Regions from separate parts of the Homo sapiens genome. Here region 1 is linked to region 2. The links are contacts of gene promoters, found by promoter capture Hi-C in blood cells and fetal thymus (Javierre and others, 2016). All regions are on one chromosome and are shown on one strand. Each heading gives the region's core, a stretch centred on a gene start or on the middle of the fragment in contact. The rest is flanking DNA. Distances are from core to core; before and after follow the strand shown.

Region 1 (7,166 bases), core at 3,549-6,048, 65 kb before region 2:
TTTGAGGAATATTTTTTGACACACAAAATAATGTGATGCATCCTAAAAACTACATTTAAATCCCAGCAATATCCTGTACGCATGCAATCTTACGTATTTGACGAAACAGCTCCTCATCTTAGATTTGAATAGAAAATTGCATATTTTGAAAAATGTAAGAGAATGAATCAGAAAGTCTTTAAGATAATTCTTAAACCTCTAAAATGCTACTGAGAGGTCTCACTGTTAAGAGCCAGGCTGGATATGGGGAGTGCTAGAAATTACTACCTAGCAGAAAATATTAAAATTCATCTCCTTGTCTGGGGAGGGGAATAGTAGAGACACAGCTCAAATCAAGAGAAAGAGATAAATCAGAAAAGGGCAGTAGATGTAAATGTAGAAAATGGAAAAGAAAGGTGGGAGCGGGAACCAGATCTCGGCTCCAGAGAATGTCAACCTGCAGGGTTGAGAAACAGGTGAAACATTAAAATAGACACTTGGAGTCTCTAGAAAAAAAATCAAACCAAAGACTATGCAAGGCACAGCACCCAAGATACATCAAGAGAGAAGAAAAGCCTTATGTGTGATGCAGGGAGACAGAGGCAAACAGGGCTAACAGGGTTACATAGACAGGGTCGGGGAAACCCAGCTAGGATGAGGAAGTGGCTCTATCATTGGTGTGGATTTTACTTTAAACCAATATGGTGATCCTGGGACACTTAAGGAAATGGCCTTACTTTCCAAAACCCTGGCACTGGGGTGACTTAGAGAAGGTAACGAGTGTAGGAATGGGTGAATCCTAGGATGAATCAAGACTCCCAAAGCATAAAGTCTGCAGACAGAAAGGTGCTGTCTTTCTATTTAAGATGGAATCAAGCCAGTTAGCACGCAGAAATGGGAGTGCTGGAGTCAGGTTCCAGGAGAGCAAGATATCAAACCAATGTTTAATGGCAGAAGGAATGCAGGTAGGGTCAAGAACTCAAATAACCAACTAGAAGTCAGATCCTTGTAAGAGTAATCTTAAGTAAAGGTCCAGGGAAAAATCTCAAGTCAAGGTCATTAAGCACTAACAAGAGAGCAAGGGCCAGTGTTACTTCTCTGTCAGAACAGGTAACGGCTATGGATGGATGTCTACCTGCCAGAGGACCTCCTTTGGAGGCATACCCCACCACGGGTGCCTTCCCGTCAGCCCTAAAGTCCTGGGTGTTGAGAAGAGCAGATAGCATTTTTGACCCCTAAATCATTATGCAAAGAACATACATGGGATTGGCCTTTGAAAACTCTGGCAAATGTGTCAAAGTATCCAGCTAGGACTGGGCAGGGGAATCCTTCATTTTGGCCTCAAGGTCCTCTCCTCTCCTGCCTCGGACCTGCTGGGTGATCAGGGAGGTTGACTGGTATAAATGGCATCCATTGTTCTCTGGCTTCTGGTTGGTTCAGCTATTAAAGGAAGCCAGCAGGAGGGTAAAGAGTGAAGGAAGGGTATTTAATCCGTCAGCAACTTCCCTGCTGAGTCACTGCCTCTACAGAAGGCTACAACCCACATCAGACAACTCATTCAGCCAACTCACACTTGTACTTCCTGTGTGCTCCCCAGCCCACACCTCCTCAACACACACCTGGTCATCACTCCCTCCCCTTGCTCTCATTCAAGTCCAGGTGTGGTCAAGCTCCTGCTGTTAAGAGCCACAGGTACCGCACCATACCTGATGGTTTTTCCTAAACTCTGTCCTCACCTTTGTAAAGAATTCCTTTATTAAGCTCTGTCCAGTTACCCAGCTCTGAATGGGCCATGAGACAGGATTCCGACCGATACACCGACTAAACTCACCATTGGCAGTAAAGTTGTTTTTGTATTTCTTTACTTGCAGGCAGATTTTTAAGAGGAATTGGTGTAGCGGTTTCCTAGCTTGTGATGAAAAAGAAAGGGCAAGATGACCTCCTTGTGGGAGTCAGTGAGCAGCAGGGGTTGAAGGTGGAGCAGAAAACCAGGGCCCTCTGCCTCCACACCCTGCCATGGTGATAACAAGAAAAAGCAGCCTAGGCCAGGTGTGGTGGCTCATGCCTGTAATCCCAGCACTTTGGGAGGCCAAGGCGGGCAGATCACCTGAGGTCGGGAGTTAGAGACCAGCCTGGCCAACATGGTGAAACCCCATCTCTACCAAAGATACAAAAATTAGCTGGGCATGGTGGCGGGTGCCTGCAATCCCAGCTATTCAGGAGGCTGAGGCAGGAGAATCGTTTGAACCTGGGAGGCGGAGGTTGCAGTGAGCCGAGATCGCACCACTACAATCCAGCCTGGACGACAAAACAAGGCTCTGTCTCAAAAAGTAAAAGAAAAAGCAGCCTAGAGACATGGCACAGGCTCGGGAGACTGCCATCTCTCTGCCAGGCAGGCCCACTCCTGCCCCCAACGCCTGTGTCAGTGGCACTGCTGTAGCCGGAACACTGGAGCCCCAGCACTGCTGGAAGTGCAGAAAGCAGCAGCAACTTGAGAATGAACAGAGACGTGTTTTGTTGCTGCTTTTACACAACTTTTACACAACCTGTCAGAGCTACTCTTTGGCAAAACCCTTCTGTTACTGGGAGAGATGGATTTTTTGCTGCCAGCAACCACATGCATTCAGGAAATTAACTCAGTGAAAAAGAACCAGAGGCCAGTAGTGGACTCTGTCTTCTCACAACCGTCTTCACCTTTACATTCCAGAATCTGTATTTCTGCTGAAGCTCGGCACACCCTGACTCCCTGATATTTGGCAAGACTCCCTTGTTTCTCTTCAGTGACTTCCACAAGAAACCTCATTGCTGTACAAGGAGATCAATGACTTGGTGGTGAACATTCATCAGTGAATATTCCTCAAGCTTAGTTATAAGCAACATCTTATGTATGGATCATTCTATAGGCAGCTTGGTTCTCAAAGATCTGCTCTGAGGATTCCTGTCCACCCTTCCTAACCTAAACTTCCCAACCTAAATTATCCAATCTTTTCAGATAGCCCACATCTACTAGCTGACTGTCAGGTTACTTTATACTATATAGACCATTCTTCCATCTATCCATTCATTGATTCATTCATTCAACGAATATGTATAGTTTGCTAAGTACTGGGTCTGTATCCAGTTATAAGAAGAAATAAAGCCACCGATTCCTGACTGGAAGAGCTCCAATCATTTTTGGGAAAAGGACAAGTCAGTAACTGCCTGGAACCCAGGGAGCATTTGAACAAAGGGCTGACAGAGGAGGAAGCAACTGATTCTGCTCGGTTGGGGATGGGGCTGGTGGGGTCAGCAAAGGCTCACATGGAGCCTGGTTGAGACAGTGTGTCAACATTGGAGTGATGCCATTTGAATTGGGTTATGAAAGATGATTGGGATCTTACCAGTCAAAGAAAGGGAAGAAGAACACTAAAGACAACAGGAATAGCATGAGTGAAGGTGTAAAAATATGCTTCACCAACCCACCCCTAGTCCTTTGCTTCCCTAACAGCCTCCAAACATTGGGGCCCTTGGGCCTTGGTCCTGGGTTCCTGTCTGCCTTGCATCACATGTTCTCATTAGTGAACACATCTGATCTTGTGCATTAAGTCTCTGTGCAGGCACCTCCAGAATGCTCCTCTGTGTTCCAGGCTCATATATGCAACTGTTGAGCTGGCATTTCCACTTGGATGTCTATAGGCATCTGAAGATGATCCTCTCAATAAGGGGCCACACAGTTCTGAAGAAATTTGAGTCTTCTTTTGTTCTTCCCTCAATTTACCCGTGGGTCCTGTTGGCAATACTGCCAAAATATGCCTCAAATCCATTCATTTTCCCCACTTTCATTGGCACTCCTCATGTCTAAGCCATCTTCCTATCTTGTCTGGACTACTGGATGAGTATGAAGACTGATGTCGCCAGTTCTGTTTTGTTCTCCATACAGTATGCAGGCTGAAGGTTTTAAAGCATAACTATTTTACTCTCCATCTTAAAACCCTTTAATGACTTCCTATTGTCCTTAAAATACCCCTCAAGCTGGCTTGAGAGGGCTGCAGGATCTCACTCCATCCACCTCTGTCAGGTACCTAGAACCAGGTGCTGCATCTCCTCCTCCAGAGGTCTATCTGGCTGCCTCCTCCTCACCCCTCATGTTTTAACTGTAATGTTTCATCCTCAGAAAGGTTTGACTACGTTGCCTAAAATACTGCCCTGTCCACTGACTGTCCATGATACCTCCTTGTTGATTCCTTTCTAGAACTTATAAGTATCACATGGATTTTTAGCTTAAAACATATGTGTCCCCCTCACTGAAATGTAAGCTCCCCAAGGGTGGGAACCCTAACTGCCTAGTGCTCCATCATATTCCTAGGGACTGGATCAGTGCCTGGCACAAGGCAGGTTGTACATAACTAGGTGTTGGTGAGAAAATGAATAAAATGATGGTTTTCCCTCTCTTGGCTAGCCCTAGATCCTCACCACTGAATCCTTACCCCCTTCCAGGAGCACCGTCCTGTAACTTCAATCCTGCACCAGGTTCCACGCAAACTGACTGAGGCACAAACTGGTTCCTTTCAAGATTCAGATGTGGGACAAACATCACAACATTTGGAGCTCAAAACTCCTCCATTTGCTGCAAATTTAGAAAAGATCTAATGACCATGGGACTGTCTCCTAGATTTTTTTGAATCTAAATTGAAACTTGTCTCCATTTTTCTGCTCTCCAAATCCCCTCTTTCCCATGGACAAGAGTTCATGATGGCTCAGGGCAGTACTGACCTACTGCCCTGGCTTATATTTCTGACAGGTTGGATCAAAGTGCTTTCAATAAGAGAAAAAGAAGGATGAACAAACTGGTGAGTTACCTGCCAACTGAGGAAGGCCACAGCCTGACTCCAGCTCTCACCTGACCCAGCTCAGTAGAAAAGGAAGGCAAAAATAAAGATAAAACATGAGTGAGCAGATAGGACAGGATAACAAATGTTAATATTATTTGCTCCCCTAGCAACACTATGAGTAGCCTTCTGCTGGTTCCATTTCTACTTCCAAATTTTTAAAAATTATTTTTAATTTTCAAAATGATTTGAATAGACTTGAGAAGAGGGAGATAGCTGTTTAGGTAATGTGTCATTCAATACTATGTTCAGTCCAACCATTAGTTGATATTCTACTTTCTCAATTCATGTTCATCACAATCTGTTGACTGTATGTGTGCACAGTATAGTTTATGGTGGTTCATCCTTTTTTTTTTTTTTGAGACAGAGTCTTGCTCTTTAGCCCAGGCTGGAGTGAAGTGGCATGATCTCAGCTCACTGCAACCTCCAACCCCCAGGTTCAAGCAATTCTCCTGCCTCAGCCTCCCAAGTAGCTGGGATTACAGGTGCCTGCCACCATGCCCGGCTAATTTTTTGTATTTTTTTAAGTAGAGATGGGGTTTCGCCATGTCAGCCAGGCTGGTCTTGAACTCCTTACCTCAGGTGATCCACCTGCCTCGGCCTCCCAGAGTGCTAGGATTACAGGCAGGGGGAGCCACCACACCCGGCCTAGTGGTTCATCCTTCACTGGGTATTATTATATGCTGTGTAATAAGCATACCAGGCACAAGGGAAATAAGGATGAATTTGACACCCTATCTGTTTCTAAGGAAGTTCAAAACGCAGGCAAACATGTAAATGATTAATTAAAACAGTATGGTGCCTGCAATGGTAGGAATGTGTGCAAGGAAGAAAAAGGGTGAGTGTATTTTGCACATGAGAGAATTATAAGTAATTTTTGGCCAGAGATCGGACTGAAACACTTTGTAACGTGGTCTCTGAATTCTTTGAGACTTCTCCCATCAAGAGAGCATGTCTGAGTCCCCTGTCCTTGAGCCTGGATCTTGTGACTGATTGACTGATAGAATAAGACAGAAGTGATGCCATGTTGGTTTCTAAGCCTGGGAAGGCCCAAGAAACTGCCAACTTCCAATTCCTGCTTCTTAGGTCACTTGCTCTTGGAAGCCACCACATGCTTGGCGGAAGCCCAAAGTAGCCCACCTGGGGTGAACACACGGTGAAGCTGAGACATCGTGAAGACAGGGATGTGGCCGGTCTCCACCTGCTCCAGCTCCTCACTGTTCCAGCTTCAACCACTGTCTGACTGGGTCCCACCAGGAAGTTCTTCTGCTGGTCTCACTGGGGTGTCTCCTACAAATGCACTTAGTGGATGGCTGGGCTGGAGTCATGTGAAGGCTGGACTGCAACAGAGGGACGGCTGGCTTCTCTCCATCTCCATGCAGCCTCTGTGCCTTCCACGTGGCTACCCCTGCCTTCCTCACAGCATGGAGGTATCAGGGTAATTGGGCTTTTCTCACGATAGCTGGCTTCTCCAAAGTGGAAGTTGCAAAGAACAGGACAGAAGCTGCGAAGTCCCATGCCCTAGACTTGAAAGCCTCTCTGCCAGCCCAGATTCAATGCTGAGGGCACTATTCAAGGGAGTGGCTACCAGAAGACATGGCTCAATGAAAGGGGCATCTTGGAAGACTAAGTGGCAGCTAAGCTATTATCCTGTAGATAATGAGGAGTCATTGAGGCTTTTAAGTAGGAGATGGATTTGATTTCAGTTTTGTTTCAATCATTCTGGGACTAAGTGAACTAGACTGGGAAGGGAATGACCCATTTCCTTTCTGGGCGACACCAAAGATATCTGGGGAGGCTTGGAGACCTCTCAAATGCCTAGAGGGGTTACAGAGCCCACATCTCTGTGGTCCCAAAGCAGTGAGTCTCCATCCATATAGATAGAACAGCAAGTGCTACATCAAGAGAGAAGCTTCACATGATTTAAATTCTCTCGGCCACACTCCAACATAACTCCCTAATGTCCCAGAGGAAGCAAAGAAATGGCAAACTATTCAAAACAGAGTCGGGGCCTGGCGCGGCGGCTCACGCCTGTAATCCCAGCACTCTGGGAGGCCAAGGCGGACGGATCACGAGGTCAGGAGATTGAGACCACCCTGGCTAACACGGTGAAACCCCGTCTCTACTAAAAAAATACAAAAAATTAGCCACGCGTGGTGGCGTGGTCCTGTAGTCCCAGCTACTCGGGAGGCTGAGGCAGGAGAATGGCGTGAACTGGGGAGGCGGAGCTTGCAGGGAGCCAAGATCGCGCCACTGCACTCAGCCTGGAAGACAGAGCAAGACTCTGTCTCAAAAACAACAACAACAACAACAACAACA
Region 2 (6,946 bases), core at 1,644-4,143:
AGTTGTAGAAGGAAAGGGCTTTATTCAGCTGGGAGCATTGGCAGACTCACGTCTCCAAAAACCAAGCTCCCCAAGCGAGCAATTTCTGTCCCTTTTAAGGGCTTACAACTCTAAGGGGATCCATATCAGAGGGTCATGATCGATTGAGCAAGCAGGGGGTACCTGAGTGGGGGCTGCATGCACTGGTAATCAGAATGGAACATAACAGGACAGGGATTTTCACAATGCTTTTCCATACAATGTTTGAAATCTACAGATAACACAAGCAGTTAGGTCAGGGGTTGATTTTTAACTACCAGGCCCAGGGCCCAGTGCTGGGCTATCTCCCTGTGGATTCCATTTCTGCCTTTTAGTTTGTACTTCTTTCTTTGGAGGGAGAAATGGGGCATAAGACAATATGAGGGGTGGTATCCTCCCTTACTATGATGTCTTGATGGCTATAAGGTCATTAGGAGATAGGAACTTTTTAGCTCTATTATAATTTTATGGGACCACTGTCTTATGTGAAGGTCACTGTTGACCGAAACTGCATAATGCAGTGCATGACTGCATGCTAGTAAAGGACTGTGACATGAATTTCAAAAAAGGGAAAAATCTCCACCACTCCTAACCTTAATTTTAGTACTTAGTTCTTATATGGTCCAATATCAATAATTTTTTAATAGTATAAATCCTGCTTCCACATACTCACTGTTTTCTACTTGGTTAAATTTCCACAATTAAGATTTTAAAAAATTTTTAAATAATCTCACAATGTGTAGGAACTGCTGTTTAAAGACATCTATTTTAATGAGCTATAAAGTCTTGGTTCTCTGCTGCAAGCGGTGGCTCACGTCTGTAATCCTAGCACTTTGGGAGACCAAGGCGGGCAGATCACCTGAGGTCAGGAGTTCAAGACCAGCCTGGCCAACACGGCGAAACCCTGTCTCTACTAAAAACACAAAAATTAGCTGGGCATGGTGGTGGGCACCTATAATCCCAGCTACTCGGGAGGCTGAGGCAGGAGAATCGCTTGAACCCGGGAGGCAGAAGGTGCAGTGAGCCGAGATCACATCACTGCACTGCAGCCTGGACGACAAGAGCGAACTTCCATCTCAAAATAAATAAAATAAATAAATAAATAAAGTCTTGATTCCCAAATGCTAGTTTATCCATCCGTTGACAAAAAGAGTCGAACTCTGTAAAATATTTTGAAGAGATTTATTCTGAGACAAATATGAGTGATCATGGCCCATGACACAGTCCTCAGCAGGTCCTGAGAATTTGTGCCCAAGGTGGTCAGGGCGCAACTTGATTTTATACATTTTAGGGAGGCATGAGACATCAATCAAACACATTTAAGAAATACATTGGTTTGGTCCAGAAAGACCTGGGACTGATAGAAAGGGAATGTTCAGTTTAAGATAAAGATTGTGGAGACCAAAGTTCTCTGTAAGTCTTACAGTGGCTGCCCTTAGAGACAATGGATGACAAATGTTTCCTATTCAGATCTTAGTTAATCTCTTTAGGATTGGGAGGGTCTGGAAGAAAAAGATCTAGCTATGTTAATACAGATTCTTTACAGATGCATATCCCACCCCTCCAAGGACAGCTTTGCAGGGCCATTTCAAGATATGGCAAAGAAACATGTTTTGGGGTAAAATATTTTGATTTTCTTCCTTGTCTTGTAATGTTATGCCAGAGTCAGGTTGGAAAGTAAGTCACCATATATAGGGTTAAGTAAAACCCATCTAATAAGAATTTATGATTTGTAGGGCATGACTCCCCAAATCCTGTAGATAGGAATCTTGGGCAAGATAAAAAAATCAGAGTTTAGTCCTCCGACCTCTGCCAATTTCTCAAGATATCTTTTGCTAGTCTAAAAGCTAATAACAAAAAGAACAACAGGATGAGCATTTTATACAAGTAAATGTATTCCATTTAAAAGATTTTTCTTTATTGTGAAATTCTGCCATTCTACCTTTTTAATGCTAAAAAGTTCTGTTTCGTGAAATGATGGTGATAGTAGACGGCATTTATTTGCTTGACAACTTTGTATGATCTCAGATTTTCTGTGTGTTTTACTTTTACTGACCCTTCAAATCTAAGTGTGTGTAAACCCTTTTAAAGTGCGTTACTACATCATTTAGTATGTGTTTCGTAGAAAGCAACCTGGGAGTTAACTGCCAGGAGCACGCAAGTTTCAGAAAGCAAGACATACTCATCTCTATTCAACAATTAATCAGTTCTGATTGGGTTTCAAGTAAGGCTTAGTACCAACGCTTAGGGAGGGGCGTGCAAAAACGAGAAAGGTAGTGTTTGACCTTACCGGTTTAAGGTTTATCCTGTGCATTATACAGTTAAGAAACAACGCAGGAGAGTGCCAGGGAACCGAGAGGGGCTTGACAGTTGCTGCAGGAGAGTCTTGACTTGGAACCAGACGAACGTGGAAAGTTAGAGGAGGGGAAAACCCCTACTAGGATAAGGCAGACAGGAATCAAGGCTTGGAGCGCATCTGGGGCCCCGGCCGCCCTGCCCAGGTGGAGGAAGAGCCGGCTCGAGGTGCAGCAAGGGGGCTGGGAAGGAAGGGCTGGCTAAAGCGCCACGTGGATGTGAGTGCCAAAGAGACTAGGAGAGCGTGGAAGTGAGTCCCGAAGAGACTGAGTTCAGGACGTGAAGAGAAAGAGGCCGAGAAAAACGACCCACCAGCGATCCTTCTTGAGGTCGACACCGAGCAGGGGTGGAGTCGGATACGCCCCGCGGACACCATGCACCCAATCAGCGACGAGCTGTCGCGGATCGCGGGACACGCCCCCTGATCCAAAGGCCCGAGAAGCTCTTGCACAGGACAGCCTCTGGAACCCCGCGCCATTAGCGCCTGCGCCGTCTCTAGGCCCCGCCCCCTCACCCCTCCGGTCCTGGAGCTCCCACAGCTAACATGGCGGCGCCCTGTGTGTCCTACGGCGGAGCAGTTTCGTACCGGCTTCTTCTCTGGGGTAGGGGTAGCCTCGCCCGGAAGCAAGGCCTCTGGAAAACCGCGGCCCCTGAGTTGCAAACAAATGTCAGATCCCAGGTAAGGCCTGGGAAGACTGGAAGCGGCTTACCTCTGCCGCGCGAGGATGTGGAGCCAGCGCGGACACCTTCCCCCAGCGTCTCGCGTGCCTTCAGGCAGGGACTCTAGGATCTTAGGTATTTAGTGGAGGTCTGAGGTTGGGGGGGAGGAGGTGGGTATTGGCGTGCAGTAGCCGCTCTAGAGGTTGTTACTTGTTTTTTTGCGGGGTGCAGCGAGGGGAACTTACCTGAAGGTAGAAGTGGAGCGACCTCCTCCTTCATTTGGCTGCTGAGCTAAGTAAGGGTCGGTGCCTAGGTCTGTGTTGGGTCCAGTCCTACCCTGCCCTGCTGTCTAGGGAGGAGGAGGGCCGCGCCAGAGAAGAATGATGGGAATTGGATTCCTGCAGGTGCCTGGAAGACAATGGAGAAAGTCACGTTGTGTAGAGGACAGTGACTTTTTGAAAGTGCCTTCAATATGCGCAATTTCTGGCTTCTTAATTTTCCCGAATCCCCCTCTATGGAAAGATGCAGGCCAGAACTTGTACGTTTCGTTTAATCCAGGGAGAAGTGGGGAGTCAACAGCTGGATGGCTGATGATGCCAGTTTACTGACATGCGATCTCAGAGCAGGAAAAAGATTTGAGAGGGAAGAAACGAGTTTAGTATGGGATTATGTTTTTAGGCATCTGGGATTTCCAGTAGGTCTACGGATAGTCAAGTGTATAGCTCAGGAGGAGAACTGATTTCGAAATGCCCTGTTACCTTGTAAATGGTAACTGAGGCCTTGTAAACAAATTAAATTACCTAGGGAGAGTGTACTGAGGAGTAGGCAGAGGGACAGGGCCCTGAAGGACAAATAAGAAATAAGAGGCCTCAAGAGATTGAGAATGAGGGACCAAAGAAGCAGGAGAGAAACCAGCCAGTGTGGTGTCATGGAAAACAGGTGAATGTTTCAAGGAGGGAGAGTGATAACAAGTACCAATTATTGCAGGAAAGTCAAATACCATACTTTAAAAACTATATTTAAAAAAAAAAACATCTTTTTGTATGTTCTTTCCTTTATATTTTAATCTAGATCAACCAGTCCATTCTATCTATTCATGTGGACATTTGTTTTTTTTTTTTTTCTTACTGGAAAATGTGCTAGAAATTTTTATTTTTTCATGCATCTCTTTGAGTATATCTTTGCTACATACGCATGATTATGAGAGGGACTATATCATACAGAGTATTTTTATTGTTGACATTTAATGTATGTATTGGGGGATGGCTAACTTTCTGTCCCTCCTGGTATCTATTCTTCTATGTTTTTTCCATGTTCTTATAATCATGCATAAACATACATGCACAGGTGTACTTTACAAAAAATGGTACCATATTTGATTGCATTTTACTTTCTGCTTTTCTCTTGTACATATGCAGTATATTGTAAAGTAGAAATCCTTCAGGGTCCCCTATTATGTTTTTAAAAGCATTTTTAACTGCTGCATACTATTCCATGATAAGAATATATCAAAGTTAATGTAACAATTGATGGACATTTGCTTTGTTTCTACTTTCTTTGCACTAATAAAGTTTCAGTAAACATCTGGTCTAGTTCTTAAGTACTGGTTTAGTAAAATGGATGAAGAATGATTTCTCCTGTTACTTTAATTTTCATCTCCTTGACCATTCTTGAAACAACCTCTTTCCCCCATATGGCAAATGTTTACTGAGCACTTTACCTGAGCCAGGCACTGTGAAGTAAACAATTTAAAGTCAAACAATTACAAGATAGTATCCACCCTTAGCACTCTTAAGGGATGGTCCTGAAATGGCTGAATCCCCAGATTCCTGAATACTACTACAGCATATATTTTACCACATTAAGTACAGCTCAGATATAACTGAAACACTTAGCTGACCCCCCTTTAGATTCTTATGATTGCATACATATACCTAAAGACATTGATAAAGCTTTTTTTTTTATCGTGGTGCAGAGCTTATCTGTCTTAAACATTAACATTTTTTCACTTCTGCCTCCAACATTAATAGATAGATTTCTCTTGGTAGCCCATGTTTTATAAAATAATAAAAATTTTAATCACTTAATGAGTGACAAAACACTATACCTGGTCTTTTGTTTGTTCCACTTTTAATTTCCTTAATTACAAAATCTCTTCAGAGGTTACAGAAAACTTGAAGGGTGTGGGAGAATAGAATAATAATAAAGTGCATTTCATGCAGAGTATTTTTGCATTTTGTTTATATATGTAAATGTATACTAGGTGGTGATATAAACAGTAAATATTACAATGGGTCACAGTTTAACAAGTTTGAGAAACACTGTTACAATAAGGAAAAAGAAGCGAGTTTTGTTAAGCTATTCCTAGGTTCTCAGTTGAGACCTTCACTAGCAGACTACCTCTTGCATAGCAATCTTGTGGTATGCATGTTTTGTATTAATGCCTCAATACAATTGCAAATGTCTGAGTGTCCCAAATTTGGGGCAGAAGAGGCAGTCTTATGAATGGCCAAACTTTTCAGATTGTATATCCATGAATATCAGGGATCTATGGTGTACTGTGATATTTACAGAGGTAAATACAGAAGAGCACAGAAGTAATATGCCTGAGTCAGACTAGAGTTGTTGACCAGGTAGAGGATTGTCATGGGCAGCTTCCCAGAGGAGGCAAAGGAAAATAGCGTCTTTAGCAGCAAATAGGAGTTATATGAAAACAGAAAGCTATTCTATTCAAGGAAGATATAATAGGTGCATAAGGGTATAGAGATGTACTGAGTAATAGTGGGCTTTGTCAGCAACAATTGGTTATAGCATAGGGTTTTGGTGAGAGAATGGTGCAGAGACAGGTCTGGAAAGTTTGGCAGGAATCAGTATGATCTGTTTTGCTATGCTAAGGTAGCTGAATTTTTTACCTCTCACAAATGAAAATAGTGTTAGCATTATTATGAGCAGTTGACAGTTTCCTTCCATGCTGTACTACAAAGGTTACCCATGAATTCATAAATCCTCTATCAATATAGCTAATATAGGAATGCTAATTTGGTTTTCTATAATATTTGTGATTTTTATAATAAGGAAAAACAAAAGACCAATTGCTATTTTGAAAAATATTTCTACAAAACACTAATAGGGTGTTTTCTTAATTATTCTCTACTACTGAACACTTTCCTAGTGCTTAAATATTCAGTTTTTGCCAAGCCAAGATGCCTTTGTTGATTTAGACCATCTGCCAGAGAAGTGATCAATGACATTAAATGGCTTGGCCCTTTATATTTTGGTTTCCACTGTAAACACATTCCTGTCTCTGTCTAAAGTATCTGTTTTTTTTTTTTTAATCTCTCATGCTTCTGGAGGTTATAATATCCTGTATTTATCACAGCATTCTATTGATCTGCTTTAGTAGGATCTTAATACATTTTTTTTGACAAATGGCTAAAAAACGCTTTGAAAAACAAATTGTATAATTGACTTGAATTTGTATCAGATGCTCTGTACAGCTCTGTAAATTAGTTATGCCCTACCCCGATAATTTTTGAATATATTTATTTTTAATCCCAGTTTATTAGCAACAGAAAAGCCCTTTGGTAGGATAAACTGTTCCCTTTGAGATCTAATCCTGTCCTTGTAAGGATAGAATTGAGTGTGTTCCTCATTGCTGTAATTAGGAAAAATACCTCTACATTAAAATTTACAGTCTTTATTTGGCAATTTATATGTTTCTTATATAATAAGAGCTTGATAATAAATGCTACTATCATTCTCACCTCTCTTTTCCTTGTAAAACAAGATAACTAAACTTTCTTGTACAATGCTTCATTGTAATTAGGATGATGAACGTATCAGTTATTTATTGCTACATAACAAATTATCCTAAAACCTAGCAGCTTAAACAACAGACATTTGTTATCTACAG

Evidence for each region. The method cuts DNA at HindIII sites, captures the fragments that hold promoters and counts their contacts. A CHiCAGO score of 5 or more calls a contact.
Region 1: a fragment that was not itself captured here is called in contact with the fragment with the promoter of MRPS9 in region 2 in 1 of 17 cell types (total B cells); the score reaches 5.3 in total B cells.

The regions. Positions count from the first base shown.
Region 1 is chr2:104,968,275-104,975,440 of GRCh38, forward strand. The region is part of intron 1 of MRPS9-AS2 (MRPS9 antisense RNA 2); the gene reads right to left. Among named protein-coding and RNA genes, the nearest start is that of DALIR, 64 kb to the left of the region's middle. RefSeq lists enhancers at 1,121-2,320, 1,155-1,804. The HindIII fragment of the contact is 3,918 bases long and covers 2,840-6,757 here.
Region 2 is chr2:105,035,176-105,042,121 of GRCh38, forward strand. MRPS9 (mitochondrial ribosomal protein S9) reads left to right here and starts at 2,894. Exons shown (of 11, transcript NM_182640.3): 1 at 2,894-3,052. The coding sequence starts at 2,918. It overlaps MRPS9-AS2 (MRPS9 antisense RNA 2), which reads right to left and starts at 3,321. Exons shown (of 3, transcript NR_110603.1): 1 at 3,279-3,321. RefSeq lists enhancers at 2,301-2,510, 2,531-2,580, 2,631-2,680, 2,851-3,180, 2,934-3,876. The HindIII fragment of the contact is 6,591 bases long and covers 1-4,983 here.